Regions from separate parts of the Homo sapiens genome. Here regions 2, 3 and 4 are each linked to region 1. Evidence: promoter capture Hi-C in human tissues and cell types (Jung and others, 2019). All regions are on one chromosome and are shown on one strand. The core of a region is centred on a gene start or on the middle of the fragment in contact, and the rest is flanking DNA. Distances in the headings are between cores, read along the strand shown.

What was found. Contacts are between HindIII fragments. The study calls those that stand out against the background at their distance.
Region 2: a fragment that was not itself captured here is called in contact with the fragment with the promoter of PEMT in region 1 in 1 of the 25 tissues and cell types used here (lymphoblastoid cells).
Region 3: a contact is called between a fragment that was not itself captured here and the fragment with the promoter of PEMT in region 1, in 3 of the 25 tissues and cell types used here (bladder, dorsolateral prefrontal cortex and mesendoderm cells).
Region 4: a contact is called between a fragment that was not itself captured here and the fragment with the promoter of PEMT in region 1, in 1 of the 25 tissues and cell types used here (IMR-90 fibroblasts).

What each region holds. Positions count from the first base shown.
Region 1 is chr17:17,589,937-17,593,897 of GRCh38, reverse strand. It overlaps PEMT (phosphatidylethanolamine N-methyltransferase), which reads left to right and starts at 2,190. Exons shown (of 7, transcript NM_148172.3): 1 at 2,190-2,367. The coding sequence starts at 2,272. RefSeq lists enhancers at 2,049-2,438, 2,004-2,745. The HindIII fragment of the contact is 9,919 bases long and covers 1-3,605 here.
Region 2 is chr17:17,397,767-17,401,727 of GRCh38, reverse strand. No RefSeq gene overlaps it. Among named protein-coding and RNA genes, the nearest start is that of MED9, 77 kb to the left of the region's middle. The HindIII fragment of the contact is 4,101 bases long and covers 263-3,961 here.
Region 3 is chr17:17,424,351-17,428,311 of GRCh38, reverse strand. No RefSeq gene overlaps it. Among named protein-coding and RNA genes, the nearest start is that of MED9, 51 kb to the left of the region's middle. RefSeq lists a silencer at 3,410-3,610. The HindIII fragment of the contact is 4,494 bases long and covers 1-3,961 here.
Region 4 is chr17:17,446,464-17,450,424 of GRCh38, reverse strand. No RefSeq gene overlaps it. Among named protein-coding and RNA genes, the nearest start is that of MED9, 29 kb to the left of the region's middle. RefSeq lists enhancers at 1-334, 3,433-3,961. The HindIII fragment of the contact is 3,984 bases long and covers 170-3,961 here.

The sequences.
Region 1 (3,961 bases), core at 941-3,440:
TTGTATTTTTAGTGGAGACGGGGTTTCACTGTGTTGGTCAGGCTGGTCTTGAACTCCTGACCTCATGATCCGCCTGCCTCGGCCTCCCAAAGTGCTGGGATTCCAGGTGTGAGCCAGGCAGGAGGTTTTTATCTGACTTGTTTCAAGCTGCAAGTCTGTCTCCTGGGTGGGGTGTTTGCTTTTCACAGAGGAAGGGTGGCCCAGGTTGGGTAGGCTGGAGTAGAGGATCGGACTGCATCAGTTCTGGTGTGACCTCTTACGGTTGCCTTACTTTGTTCTCAGATAAAGCAAACGCACAAAAATTTGTTTTCTGGGCTTAACAAAACAGGAGTGACCAGTTAGGTCAGAAGACTGGAACATCAGTGAAGTGGATGTGTGGTAGGCGGAGGGGAAAGACTTGCTAGAAGCCCTCCCGCTGCGGGGGGCTCCTTCAGAAATGGCTCTGCCTCTAGCAGCTCTGCCTGGACACTGAGCAGGGAAAGGGTCCCGACACTCATTAGTAACAGTGGTAAGTCAGAGAACCAGCCCTGAGCCTGTGTCCCCAGCCCTGCCGGGGGCCAATGCCTACTGAGCACTTCCCACAGGCCAGTTCCTGGGTGATGAGTTTTACCAACATGTATTTCCCTTTTACTTTTGAGGAAAATGAAGGTGGGCTCAGTCACAGAGATAGTGCATGCTCCAAAGCCAGTGTCTTTCCTGTCTCCTCGGTTGGCCTGCCCCATCCTAGCGATGTTGTGAAGATTGGGACTACCTCTAAAGCAGCACACAGTGGCTGCTCAGTAAATGCTCAACACTGGTAGGTGCTGTGGGCCAAGGTGGAGAGAAACGGGCCATCTGGAGCAGGAAGCAGCTGACTGCAGAAGTCCTGTCTGGGCCCCCAGCAGTCTGGGTGACTGAGCAAATCTTGGAACCTCTCAGTCTATTTCCCCATATTACATAACACCTGGCTACAAAAGGGCTTTTTTCTTTTTTGAGAGGGAGTCTCGCTCTGTCGCGCAGGCTGGCATGCAATGGCACCATCTCCGCTCACTGCAACCTCCACCTCCTGGGTTCAAGCGATTCTCCTGCCTCAGCCTCCTGAGTAGCTGGGATTACAGGTGCGCGCACCACACCCGGCTATTTTTTGTATTTTTAATAGAGACGGGGTTTCACCGTGTTAGTCACGCTGGTCTCGAACTGCCGACCTCTGGTGATCCGCCCACCTCGGCCTCCCAAAGTGCTGGGATTACAGGCATGAGCCACCACACCCGGCCTACAAAAGGGGTTCTTCTGGGACCCGATCGTCTAAACTCTTCTCCATTTGACCCCCTCCATCACTACTCCACAGCTCACCGGTCTTTTCTCTGTTCCTTAGGTGCCCGTCCTGTCTCCAGGCCTTTGTACATACCATTCGTCTTGCCTTGTTTGCCCTGCCCTCACACTTGGCACATCTGGCACCTCCCCTGCACATTCTAAGACAGCATCCTTCCGTACCATTTGACCCACCCCGTTTTTTCCACCACAGTACTCATCCATATTATAACCCTTTATTCACATTTTGTCTTTTATCTCAGTCAGGAGGAAGCGAGGGCGGGGGACTCTGTGTTGTTCCCTACCGTACCCTCAGCGCACAGTCTGGTTCAGAAAATACTCGAGAGTGAATGAGAGAATGAATGAAGGAAAAAATGAGTGGAGGAGGGGTCTTTGGCCGAGCTAAAGAGCCTGGGCGCCGCGGGGGCGGGAAGCTCTAGGCAGTGCTCGTCGCGCACCGCCCCCAGAGTAAAGCGAATTTCAGAAGAGGGCGTGGGGCCCTGGGCGTGTGGGGCCCTGGGCGTGTGTGACCCGGGCCAAGTCCAAGTCCGCAGGAGGCTGCGCGGGAAGCTGCTTATAGCTACGACCCGCGGCCCCCGGCCTCTAGCCCCACCGCCGCCAGGCAAGGGCAGGGACGCCAGGTCAGTTACAGGCTCGGGTGCGGCAGCCGGCGACCAAAGGCACTGGGCGGGAGGCCGGATCCAAGGGGATACTGCTACGTAGCTGCAGCGGAACCGGCAGGCTCTGCGGCGAAACACACTGGGACTTGTAGTTCTCGGCTCCTCTAGACGCTGTCGCGAGCCCCCAGATAAAGAGGCACTTCGCGGTGACGGGGAACTACATTTCCCAGAAGGCCGGAATATGTTGGGGGTCACCGGGAAAGCGCCCCGACTGGCGGCACTTACCCGGCTCTATAGGTCCGGTTCCGGGGGCGCGTGGCTGCAGCGGGGCCCGCGTGGTGCCTCCTGAGGCGGCCCCCGGATGAAGAGATCTGGGAACCCGGGAGCCGAGGTAACGAACAGCTCGGTGGCAGGGCCTGACTGCTGCGGAGGCCTCGGCAATATTGATTTTAGACAGGTACTGACCGCACCGGACCGCCGCGGAAACTGGGAGAGGGATCTGCAAGGCCCGAGGGGCGTGAAGGCTTGCGGCGCCTCAAACGCTGCGGGGCGGGGCCGCCAGTTCCCAGGCAATGGGGGCGTGGCGTGGCGGGGGTGGGGGAGCCGCGTGCGGGAGCGCCGGCTGGTGTCTGTGTGTGTGCGTGTGCGCGCGCGTGTAAACCTCAGATTGCGTGTGTCAGAGACGGGGGCGTTCCTGAGCTCGTCTGATTGTGTGCCTGTGTGTGGCCCTGAGATTGTGTGAGACTCAGAGGTTGTCCGTGTTAGTCTTTGGGATTGTGTCTCACTGAAATTATGTGATGCTCTGAGAGTGTGCCGGAGAGTGAGTGTGAGTGTGTATGACCGAGGCTGTGTGTGACTGAGCGTGGGCGAGGGTGAAGGAGGCCGATTATATGTTTGGGAGTGTGTTGTGTGGCCCCTGCTCCCGTCCATCCCCCAGGGTCAGGAGGCCAGCTTTTGCCCAGAGGCAAGAGAGTGGTGGGGACCCTGCCTGTCTCCCAGCCGGCCCTGGGCAGGCTGCAGACCACCACCCAGCCGTTTCGGGGCCATAATGGGTGCGACCGGCCCCAGAAGCTGGGGGCCTGGCTTGCCTGCTGAGGCTGCCCTCTGCAGAGTCCTAGGCCAGAGAGTGCCTGTCCTGGCATCTCCCCAGGCTCCCAATTCCAATGGATTCCAATTTCCAACCTCTCTTGCATTCTCCCTTCTATCAAAGCTTCCTCTTAGATGCTCCATTTACCTTTTTCATCACCCACTCTTCATGAAGCCTGTAAGGCACATCTCTGCCCCAAGCAGCTTCTAATCCAGTTCTTTCGCTCCCTTCATTCCTTACTCACATGTGCATTTATTCACTCACTGATCCAGCCAGTATTGATTCAGGGCCGGCTGAGGGCCTCGTGTCACTCAGAAGTTTAAGGGCACTTCTGTCACTGAGCTTTCATTCTAGGGAGGGAGATTGTAGGCCTGGAAAGCCAGAGAGTTCTCTGAAGGAGCTAATACCAGTTAGTGTTTTGAAGAGTAGCTGATGGGAAGGCGGGATTGAAATCCCAAGAGAGCCTGTTGCCGTATCTGCGAGGGAGGGACCTGGGATCTGAGAGCCGAAAGGTCAGTCAGTGGGGCAAGATTCCCCAGAGGAGGGAGGCAGTTGCGAAGCCCTCCAGGAGGCACAGGAGGAGATGGGCCGCTGGCCCTGAGGGAGCGCAGGACCGTTGGCCAGATGGGTGCTCAGCAGAGGACAGGAAGAAGACTATTACTTTAGTAAACTGTCCATTGAATTACAACATGCAGTCAGATGAGTGATGGGTCCTACCCCTACAGCTCCTGCATTTTCACCAGGTGAACCTGTATCTGTTAATCCTCAGATCAAGATGGGGGGTCATGATCACCTCCAGGGGCTGCCCTCAGAAGCCACCGTGTAGAAGGGTGGGTGGGGGAGCCATGTAGAAGGGGGGGCAGAATGCAAGGGGGCAGTGTCCCTTTGCAGACCCATCTAGGGGCCTGCCCCAGGGCCTGCCAGTGGGCAGGGGAGACTAACCGGGTGTGTGAGGGGTGGGCTT
Region 2 (3,961 bases), core at 1,064-3,563, 190 kb after region 1:
CAGAGGAGTGAGTGTGTGGACCTCACTCCACCCCAAGTGCTGGGATGTTGACTCATGGTCTTGCCAGGCACTCACGTGACTGCTGGTGGGGACCCAGCCTACATATCCTCTGGGCCTTTCTTGGATGCCTCTCCACCTCTTGCTGCCCTCGGGTTCCCTCACTTCCCCCATTCACACTGGAGCTGACCTTGGTCTGATGTGTCTCCACAAGTCCCGCCTCCCCCACGGATGCCCTGTACAGCGGTACAGGCTGTGCACTGCCCAAGGGCATCCTGCCAAAGGCGCAGTGCTCATTGACATTCAGTCCATGCTCCGCTAGCCAAGCCCTGCAACCCTTGGGACTGCAGCCACCATTAGAGGGCGCTTTCTTCCTTCACACAACGCACCACATGGGCTAATGGCAGCCCCCAAGCCCTCGGTGGACCCAGCACTGACGGGATGTGCCCCTTGCTCACTCCCCTGGAAGGGGCAACTCTGCCCACTCTACATTCACTGATGACCTTCCTTCTCCCTGGGGACGTTCATACCCTCAACCTAGGCTCCAGATATTTTCTATGCCCCCTGAGGGGGTGGGTCCATGCCGCCAGTGGGGGTGCCCTGGTGGCCCACTGTAAAGGACTCTCTGCCCCTTACCCCATTCTCACTCCTGAGAGTTCTAGCACCAGATGCCCAGGACGTGCGTGTGTGCCTGCTCACTGGACAGAGGTTCCTGTGTAAACACTGCCATCGGGACCCCAGACACACGCTCCATGTGCACAGACATGCGCTCACGTGGGTGTGTGGGTTAGACATGACATACAGGGATCTGGCCTTCCCTTGCATTGAAACCTAGTTGGCGGGTTGGGAGGGTATGTGGTTAAATCCGAGCAAGAGACACAGACCCCATGAGTGTAATCACATGCCTAAACCAGGCCAGGAGACTCGGGCACACGATGTGGGTTTGTCTGCTATGTGGGCACTGGACTCTGGGAAGCCTGAGCCCCTTGGAGCCCCCGCTGGTGGGACAGGCTGGAGCTAGGAGCTTAGCAACTCGGGTTCCTGGAAGGTAGAGAAACATAAGAGCAAATCAGGAGACAAGAGGAGGCAAGGAAAGCTGGAGGGCAAAGAGGCCCCTGGAAGCCCCTCTAAGCCCAATTTCCCAGTGTTGACAACGAAAACAAAATCAAGCTTTCGAAGAACTAAAGTTCATTTCATTCAGGAGTCTGAGGACTCCAGACCACATCTACTGCCTCAGGGCAGTTCTGTTGAAGCCCACGGCTTACATACAGGTGGTGGAGGTTCAGCAAGTGCAAAATCACATCGGACTTGCTCAGAAGTTACGTTGAAGCAGCAGCCCATCAAGGTGTGGGTGTAAGAGCACCTCTGGTTATAGATGGCAGAGGCATCGTCATTAAGCCTGTCAGAAAGGCAAGGACTAGAGCTCTTCTCTTTTAAGGAATCAAGTGACTCAGGCAAGAGACGTGCGGGGCCGGGCGCTTCATCCTGCTTTGCCTTCAAAGCATCTTTCCAGAGAGCTGCACGTTGTCACAGAGTCAGGGGTTCAAGCAGAAATGAGCCAACGTGGCTTCTTACGCATGCTACTTCGTCTTACAGTGGGAAGAATAAAAATGCTTCATCCTCATCCCTGGGTGCTACAGCCTTTGCAGCCTCCTTGTCGGAGTGGGAATGGTCGTCAGCGGCAGGCACATCTGAGAGCAGGGCACACCCTGAGACAGGGCAGGATCGGAGCAACATAAGGGCACATCTTGAGGCCCTGACTGGGGCCCCAGGCTGGCTGCTTTTCTTCCCACCCTAGAGGGTATTTCTGTACCTCTCTACCACAAGGCGCTCGAGGAAGGCTTACTGAGAATGCTGCAGTGGAACAAAGTCTGAAGGAGGTGAGGGAGCAAGTTCTGTCTGTGTAGTGTGGAAAAGCATTGCAGGAGAGGGTACAGCCAATGCGAAGGCCCTGAGGCAGTACCGTGAGTGGCCAGAATGAAATGAGCAGGCAGCAAGGGGAGCAGGCATGCCACCAGGCCAGAGCACTCACGGGGGCTAGTGGGAGGACTCTGGCCTCATCCTGAGGGAGGTGGGAGCCCTGGAGGGTTTGTGGGGAGGAAGGAGGATGACTTTCAACAGCGTCCCTCTGACTGCTAGAAGGAAAACTAGCAGTGTGTGGGTGGGGGCAGGGGTGGGAGCGGGAGACCAGTGAGCCACCATTCAACTCTATGATCCACGCACAGCTGGGCTGGGCCGGAGCCCACAGGCTTAGGACCCAGCATCAGGCGGGGTAGTGGGCAGCCTGGAAGGGCTGAGAGTAGTGGGCAGGCTGGAAGGGGTGAGTCAGGGCCGCAGCAGGGAGTAGCAGTGAGGGACGTGGGCTCCAGCATTGGGCTTCAAGTCCCACAGAGTCCCAGCCAGCCTTGGGACCTGTGGGCAAGTTTGTGCATCTTCCTGGGTCTCCATTTTCCTATATAAAAAAATAAAAAATAAAAGAATGGCAGATAAAATATGGTGTCAGCCCCTAGGATCGGGTGGGTGGCTGTGTGCAGGTCTGCTTTTAATTTAAGGCAAATGTGTAACAGTGAGGGAAGTGAGGGCCAGACCTGGGTGGGGCCTGGCAGGGCCCAGGGCACAGCCTTTAAGGGCGGGCCTCAGAGCGAGGCTGTGCTTTTCTCTGCTCCAGGTTGCAAGCCTTTGGTCTCTTGAACCTTTCCTCCAGGTCCTCACCTCAAGTGCTCAAGGCATTTTTGTTGTCCTCCTCTCTGGAAACTGTGGGATGTACAAGAAGAAGAGCTTTGCTTATCCCCACACATTCTGTTCCCAATTTGAGCCCTGCCTGCTTGTTTTTCTTAAATAACACTTAGCGAAACCTTCCTTTTTATCTTGCCAACTTGAATTTATCTTGTGGTCCACTGAGACACTTGGATTTGGGGGTTTTGTTTTTCTGCTTCTGATTGCACCACTGGATTTCCAACTTCCTGTGTGCTTTGTGGCTCATGATCCCATTTGGACCGGCTGCTCCCCACTGCAGGGAGGGTGGCGGTGAGCTGGCCTGGCAGCCTCCCCAGGACCACATGGAGGGACAGAGGAGACGTTCTCTGAAGGAAGGGGGTGGTCTGTGGTGCCAACACCAGATCCTGGGCACAGAGGACACCATCCTTTTTTTCACAGTGTCTGAGGGGGACTCATCCCCTCCCCAAAGCCCACTTGACACTCTTCTTGGCAGGGCAGGGGGTTCATTTACCCTCTCTCAACCTCTGTTCCTTCTGGAAAAAGGAAAGAGCAGATTGCTGCCCCTGGCCTCTCTGAAGGGCTTTGTGCTGTCAAGTGTCCAAGTAGTTCGTGGAACAGCAGGACACTAAACACCAACCTGCGGCCTCACAATGATGATGATGATTGCCCCTAAAAGGGGGATAATCGCTGTGACCTACTTAGGGCACAGTTGTCACTAATGGCCTTGGAGAGCTGTGAAAATAGCAAGTGCCAAGGGGGAAGCCGAGGTGAATCTGGGCAGAGTGGTTGCTGCATATCTGTGTTTGCATCTCTGCTCCCTTTTTCCTGTGTCTTGGTCAAAGGCCTGAGCAGCATTTCTCAGGAGGAATGACCCAAAGGCCCCAGGCCCATCCTTGCAAAGACCACTGCTCTGTGCCTGGTCAGGGGGTTAGCAGCAGAAACCCATTCACTCAGGCATAAGCAAACGGGACATTTTTACAATATACAGTGTTTTGTGGTTCTGAACACAAGGGCAAGAATGAGGTCAGGCATCTCTCTGGTGGAAAAGTATCGCTGGGGATGGAACAGCCAATGCAAAGTCATTGAGGCAGGACCATGAGTGGTACCTTTTGGGAAGTGCTCTGGAAGGCCACGGAACCAGCGGCTGAAATGGAATCAGACCTCCAAGTTCCCTTTGTATGTTTCATCCCTCATTTTAAAAAATATTAAATGTGGCCAGGCGTGGTGGCTCACGCCTGTAATCCCA
Region 3 (3,961 bases), core at 832-3,331, 170 kb after region 1:
TCCCAGCCGTCAGAAGTTCTCATGGGGCCTCTCATGTGTGCATTAAGAGTGGCAAGACAAAAATGAAGAAAAATAATTCAGTCGACTGAGAAGAAAAAAACCTTTTTCCAGAAAAACAAGATCCATGAAGAGAAAAGACAACAAAAGCCTTTTAAATATACTTATAGCATGGACATCCATCTTTAATTAACCTGACCTATAGCTTGCAGCTTGGATACCCATCTTTTTTTTTTTTTTTTTTTTTTGAGACAGAGTCTTGCTCTGTCATCCAGGCTGGAGTACCGTGGTGCGATCTCGGCTCACTGCAACCTCTGCCTTCTGGGTTCAAGCGATTCTCCTGCCTCAGCCTCCTGAGTAGCTGGGACTACAGGTGTGTGCCACCATCCCTGGCTAATTTTTGTACTTTTAGTAGAGACTGGGTTTCAGCATGTTGGCCAGGATGGTCTCAATCTCTTGACCTCATGATCCGCCCACCTTGGCCTCCCAAAAGTTGACTTTTAACCATAGGGCTCCTCTTTAAGAAGTCCTTTTAAATCTCTTATTACCTGACCTTAGCCACGCCAAATGGCCAATACTTCAATACTTCTAGCTTTTGAACTCATGGAGGGGCAGATAATACAGTGATTTTTACCATGACTCTTGACATGGTGGAGGAAAGACCTGAGACGCCCCTCACGGTCATGCATCTTGGGGACTCTGAGGTTTGTGAGCCTGCAAGGTGGCTTTTAGAGGCTCTGCTTTTTTCTTGTATTGCCTTTCTCTTTTTTGGACTTCCTTCTGGTCCCTATTGTAAAAGACTGAGGTGGCCACTTTTAGGAGGTTCTCTAAAGTACTATCTCGTCCTATAGCCTGTTTCTGTAGCTTCTTCCTGATATCCGGAGGCCACCTTTGTGATAAACTTGTCCTTTAGGATTAGCTGTCCCTCGACTGAATCAGGAGCTAGAGAGGTGTGCTTTACCAAAGCCCCTCTTAGCCTTTCCGGAAGGCAGTGGGATTCTCATCTAATCCCTGATCTATCATGGCGATCTTGGAGGAATTGAGAGGCTTAGTCCTAGTTCTTCACAAGCCCTCCAGTATGTACACCTGAATGTGTTTCCCCCTCCATTCTCCCATTTCATCCTTAGGGTCCCATTTAGGGTCCTCCAGTGGTGCTGCTATTTTTCCAATCATATAAGTCTCATTCCCTTCCTTGGCCCTATATAAGATACAAAGCTCATCCCCCAAATTCTCTACTACTTGCAGGGTGGCCTGCTTTCCAGTGGTGGTCAGGGATTGATTCAAAAGTAACATGACATCCTTCCAGGAGAGCTCAAATATTTTGATTAAGTTCTGGAAAGCCTCTATATCCCTGTCAGGGCTGCCTGAAAACTTGCCAAGATCTGCCTTAATTTGCCTTAAGTCTAGTAGAGAAAAGGGGACCTGGACCTCAATGGGGCCATATTCACCAGGCATCTGTTGTAGGGGCAGTTGAGACTGGGACCTGCCTAAAACGAGGATTCCTAGGCTGGGGCAAGCTTGAGAGATAACCTGGATAGGGAGGAGCAGAGGGGGTTGATTCTCCTGCTGGAGGTACTTCTGGGGTTTGCTTCCCTGGTATTGCCCCTTGCAGCCTCTCCTGAGATGGCCAGTAGGAGGGCTGAATCAATCCTACATCAGCAAAGGTCCAGGCTACCCTGCAAGGCAAAGAAGGCCTGCACATATGGGACCATGGACCATTTGCCCCCGCGTTTACAGAAAGGCTTCCTTCCTGAGGCCGTGCTTCTTTTCTGTGCCTCAAGGTGCTTGGCACTAAGTTATCACCCAAGGAAATGACAAGAACATTTTTGCCACAAATTTATGTACAGATACCAAGGCACACTTGGCTTCTGTGCTACTCTTAACCTTCCATTTTAGACTTCTGATGACTAAGCCAAATGCTCATTCAATCCAGTACTAGCTCTGGTTTGCAACAACATCCTTAACATTTATTTTTTTTTTTTGAGACAGAGTCCTGCTCTGTCACCTGGGCTGGAGTGCAGTGCCACAGTCTCAGCTCACTGCAACCTTTGCCTCCCGGGTTCAAGCGATTCTCCTGCCTCAGCCTCCTGAGTAGCTGGGATTACAGGCACCACCACGCTGGGCTAATTTTTTTGTATTTGTAGTAGACACAGGGTTTTGCCATGTTGGCCAGGCTGGTCTCGAACTCCTGACCTCAGGTGATCCACCCACCTCAGCCTCCCAAAGTGCTGGCACAGACATAAGCCACTGTGCCTGGCAACATCCTTAACATTTAACATGGTACATAAAGAAGAAATAGGAACCTTGATATCCTGAAAGAAAGAAAGAATGTTAGGAAAGACCGGAGGTCCTAGTGCTGACACTGTAACAGGTGGTCAGGGACTGGAGTTAGTCCACGGGCCTTTGAATTAGGCCAAAGGGTAGCCTTGGCCAGATACCCTCAGTTGCCTCAGGACCTCCTTCTGGTCCCACACAATGGCTAGACCTCTGTGAAAGAAAACTGGTTTGGAACAAAGCCAACATTCCCAACATCTGAGGGTAATGGAGGGTTGCCAGTGTCCTCCCCAGCAAGCCTGTCCTCCGTGTCCTAAGTCTGGCAGCCACACTAGTTGCTCTTAACTGGCTGATAGAGGCCTGGTATTTTTCTTTCATTTTGACTATTGTGGAGTTTAGAGACTTTGAAAAAAGGACAGAAAGAGTAGATCTGCGCACATGTACCCTAAAACTTAAAGTATAATAAAAATAAAATAAAATAAAAAGAGTAGATCTGCTTTTACTCACCCTTCTGCAGATCCTGGACAAGCCCTCCAAAATGTTATGGGATCCTTGAGGTGTTGCTTTTCTAGCCAGAAACCTCTGTGGTCAGTGGTACCTTTTGCCCGAGTTTTGCTTGGACCCTCTGGGCTCATTCTGCCCACTTGGCCTGGCAGGCTATGCCGGCTCATGTTCCTAGCCTGGATCCCATGCCTGGCAAGGGCAAGCCAGGCATGGGGCGGTGAGGGGTGCGTGAGTGAATGAGCATGGGGTCTGGTCACTGCACACAGGCACGCCGGCTGCTGCAGCAGGGCGGGCAACTCCAGGTGCCAGCATGGGTACAGGCTCTCTGTGAGGCTGCAGCTGGATCAGGTGCAATGCAAGTAGCTTCCATAGCTGCCGCCAGGGGACACAGTGGTGCCTGGAAGCTTGGAGACTCCAGGAACTGCAGCATCCCAAAGAGAGAGGCACAGCCCTGGCTCAGGGAGCTCCCAGGTCTGGGATCTCTGAAGGATTACAGCTCTTCTCTCCTGCTCCTCACCTGCAATGTCACAAACAAGGGGCATGTTTCAGCTCTGTTTGTGTTATAGACCTTTCAGACCTGCCATTCAACAGGTCCCAAGTTCTTGTCCCACATCCAGGAGGAATGAGGTATGTGGACAAGTGGAGAGTGAGCAAGGTGAAGAGGAGCTTTATTGAGTGATAGACTAGCTCAGAGGAGGCCCTGGAATGGGTAGCTCCTTCTGCAGGCAGGTCATCCCATCGTTCTCTGAAGCTCTCAGCAGAGAGGAGACCCTGGAATGGGTAGCTCCTCTCTGCAGCTGGTTTTCCCAACATCTGCTCAGCTCTGGCTGAGTCTGGGGGTTTTATGGGTCTCAGAGGGAGGAAGTGAGTGCCAATTGGTCCATGGGCAGCCATGGGGGGATCTGGAAAAAGCACCACAAGTTCCCACTTTGGTCCATGGAACTGGTAGCCTGGCCCCGAGCCTTCAGGCCCTTTCTGGCCTGAAGGTAGGGCCTCACCAGAGACCCACCCTCTTCCACCCAGGAACCTATTTGCCTCCTGCTGCCATTCATGGTGGCCAAGCTGTAGGTGCCAAGGGGCACCTGCAGGCCAGCACTGAGCTACCATCTGTACCCCATTGGCTTCTCTCTTATGCTTGCTGGTGTCCAAAGTTTGGAGACAGCTGAGGCAGCAGGGGACTGGCATG
Region 4 (3,961 bases), core at 912-3,411, 140 kb after region 1:
ATCAAGGGGGTGGGTATTATCTGTTAAACCGCTGTGCGGCATCAGGCAGGTCTAAGGGGCGGAGATGCACTTGTGTCCCTTAACTAGTGGTTAAGAGGACAGCTCTGATCAAATCCCAGCTCTGCTACTCTTTAGTGACATGGCCTTGTAACTAAGGCCGCAGCTGTGCCTGGCCTGTGGCTGAACCTCTCTCTGAACCTCAGTTTCCTCCTCTGTAAAGTGGGGACAATAGTAGTGCTTATAAATGGCATCAACCAAGGTGCTTAGCTGTAAACAACATAGACCAACTCTGCTCACTTTAGCAGAAGCATTTCTTAAGAGGGTATTGGGTACACACTGGTGCCAAAAGACAGGCATAAGAATAGAATATTCCTAGCAGCACCATTCAAACATCAAATGTCCATTCACAATAGAACAGGTAAGCTGGTTACGGCCCTTCACACCAGACAGCACGGAGGATGGAGAAACCTCAGCTACGTACAGCAGCATGGATGACTCTCACCCACGCTAACTCAAAGAAGCCAGACACGAAAAGGGTGTGCACTATATCATGCTGTTTCTATAAAGCTCAAAAACAAGCAGAACCAATCTAGAAATCTGGTGGTGGTTATGTTTGGGAGGAGAGACCCTGGGAGAGTCTCTAAGGTGCTGGCCCTGTTCTATTTCTTGGTCTGGGTTCTGATTACATGAGTGTGTTTGCTTTGTCAAACTTCATTGAACTGCACACTTAGGATCTGTGATCTTTTCTGTATGTATCTGATACTTCAATAACAAAATTAACTTTGAAAAAAAGCAGAAGGCATGTTTGGTTGCTCATGGATGTGCTGGGAGAATCAGAGAGCTAGGCCTGAAAGCCAGAGTCCAGAACACTGCCCCTAATTTTTTTTTTTTTTTTTTTTTGAGATGGAGTTTTGCTCTTGTGACCGAGGCTAGAGTGCAGTGGCACCATCTCTGCTCACCGCACCTTCCACCTCCCAGGTTCAAGCAATTCTCCTGCCTCAGCTTCCTGAGTAGCTGGGATTACAGGCTCCTGCCATCACACCCAGCTAATTTTTGTATTTTTGGTAGAGACAGGGTTTCACCATGTTGGCCAGGCTGGTCTCGAACTCCTGACCTCAGGTGATCCGCCCGCTTCGGCCTCTCAAAGTGCTGGGATTACAGGCATGAGCCACCGCGCCTGGCCAACACTGCCCCTAATTAAGGCATGGAGCTGTTTCAAGGGAGGAAAAGGTGGCAGGCGTTGCAGCCAGAGGGGCTGGTTCAAATCCCAGCTCTGCCAGTCCTTAGTTATGGGACTTTGGACAAGTCTCTGGATCCCTCTGAGCTGTGTCCTCATCTGTACGATGGGGTGCCAGCCCACAGCTTATCCCACCACTGTCCACACTGGCACTGCCTGTTATCATGCCTGGCAGAATGGATCCCGGATGGTACCTGCCCCTTCACAGCTGAGCTCAGGGTGAGCACATCTGATTGGCCAGCCCTGGGCACATGACCACACTACACCCTGCAGCATGTGGAGGTCAGTGCGAAGCTGGGTGCAGGGTCTGGCTCAGGGGTTCCATGGAGCCCCAGGGTGGGCTTTACCCGCCAAGATTCTGACTTACCTGATCTGGGGAGAGTCTGGAATGTGGCTGTTCTTTTTAAGCTCCCCAAATGATTCTAGTGTGAGTCAAAGTTGAGAACCACTGCCCTGAATCTTTATCTTTGAATCCTGAAAACTTTCTAAAAGGAAAACGATCCCAGAACCTTCAGAGTTTCTGTCCATTCGAATCTAGTACTAGTATACCTCGTTTGAAATTAACCTCATCTAGCGCCATCTAAGCTCAGAAAATGAAGCCATTGTGGGATCATTTGCCAAAGGACTTGTTGACATCTGTTTTTATTCTTTTTTATTTTATTTCATTTTTCTTTTATTTCCTTTTTTGTTTCTTAATCCGAGTGAACTCATAAAGTCTGTTTTTAAGTGGTACTTAAGCAGTTAAAATATGACTCAGTTTGACTCCATTGAAACTGCTTTAAATAATTTCCAAACAAGATGAAGTTAAGAGTAAATAAAATAGTCACGTTTGGGAGCATGAAGGAGCCGGCAGCTTTTGACGGTCTGGTGATCAGGCAGCCACGCAGGACCAGGTCTCGACTGTCCTTGGGTTTTGTGGAGCATTAAAAAGGAATAAGGAAATGGGGTGGAGGAGGTCAGCTAATTCTGGGAACAAAGCTAAGACTGCTGTGACTGGGGACTGGTGGGGTCATCAACTCTTTCTTGGGTAACTTTGGCCATGCTTTTTTTTCCTCTGCAGAGTCTGAAAAGGCTACCTGCTTTAGTTTCCTGTGGTTGCTGTAATCATTACAACAACACAAATGTAATGTCTCACTGTTCTGGAAGCCAGAAGTCCAAAACCAAGGTTTCTGCAGGGGTTTGCGCTCTAAAAGCTTGGGGGGAGGATCTTTCCTACCTCCTCCAGCTTCTGGTGGCTCCAGGTGTTTCTTGGCTTGTGGCCACATCACTCCAATCTCTGTCTCTGTCTTTGCGTGGTCTTCTTGCCTGTGTCTCTGTGTCTTCTCCTCTTCTCTTACAAGGACACTTGTCATTGGATTTAGGACCCACTTGGATGATTCAGGGTGATTTCACCTCAAGATCTTAATTGTATCTGCAAAGACTCTGTTTCCAAATAAGGTCACATTCTGCATTTCTGAGACATGGACATCTTTTGAGAGGGTCATAATTCAGCCCACTCCACCACCTTTGCTCAAAGGATGCTTCTGCATTTAACTTAGATTCAGCATCCTGATTCCACAAGTGTACTTTGGCCTAGCTCTGGATTTCAGATTTGGCAGGGCCGAGGTCCTTGAACCCCAGTGCCCGGGTCAGCAGAGATCATTTACCATGCAGATTCTGAGGGAGTAAGTCTGGGCAGAGCTCAAGGTTCTGCATTTCCAACAAGCTCCCAGGTGATGCCAACAAAGCTGCTGGCCAGGAACCTCCCTCTGAGCAACACGTCTGGTGACTATGGGAAATATCCAGGTCCCACCCTGGTGATCCTGATCCAGAGGCCCATTCTTTCCAGGCAGCTTTCAGATCCCATTCTGAACCGGGGCCGGCAGCCCCTGCCCTGTGCTCAGGAGCAAGGCCTGCAGGCCAGGAATGAGCCAAGCCAGCCTGAGCCCCTAGCCACCTCCTAAGAAGGGTGTTTCCCAGTCCTGAAGTTTGGCTGGGAATTCCAATAGAATCCGTGACCTTTCAGGAAGCATCTACACTCTCCTAGCCCCCTCCCTCTTACATACCACCCCTCAGCCCTCTTTCTCTCTTGCCCTCTGATAAGTTCCCCCTTGGGTCCTCAGACAAGCCACAGGGCCCTGCCAGCTGCCTCCTGGCTGGATGCAACCCAACCTCACCGCATGGTGGGGATGGCCCAGGTGAGGGCACAGAAGGCCCACCTCTGTCTAGCCAGGCCCCACGTCAGCAGGGCTGCCAGCACAGGGACAGCGAGACCAGCTGGGGAACTGGTTATTTCAAGTGGCTCCCAACAAATCATGTCATTTCCTCAGCTGTGAAGACTGACAGCCCTCAGCACTGTGGCAAATGCAAGCCACTCTTTCCAATGATCAGTGTGAGAGGAAGAAAGGGAGACCCCATGGGGGAGAGGAGGCCTCCCCTGCCAGCCTGCATGGGGCTGAGCAGTGGGGCAGGGACAGAGGTGATGCGACCACAGCTGAGTGACTCAGCCAGGGTCTGCTCTCTCACATATGGTGGCCAGGACCCAAGATCCCACCTGTGGCAGGTGTCCCTGAGGGCAGTTGACACCTCAAAATAAAACTTGAGATTGCTCATGCAACCGTGAAAAGGAAACAATTTATTACCATAAAAGAGCCATTTAATGTGAGACCCCAATAGCCTCTGGCTGTCTGTCATCCTGATCTGACGTGAAATGGATTTGATATTATCTGCAAACAACCACACATT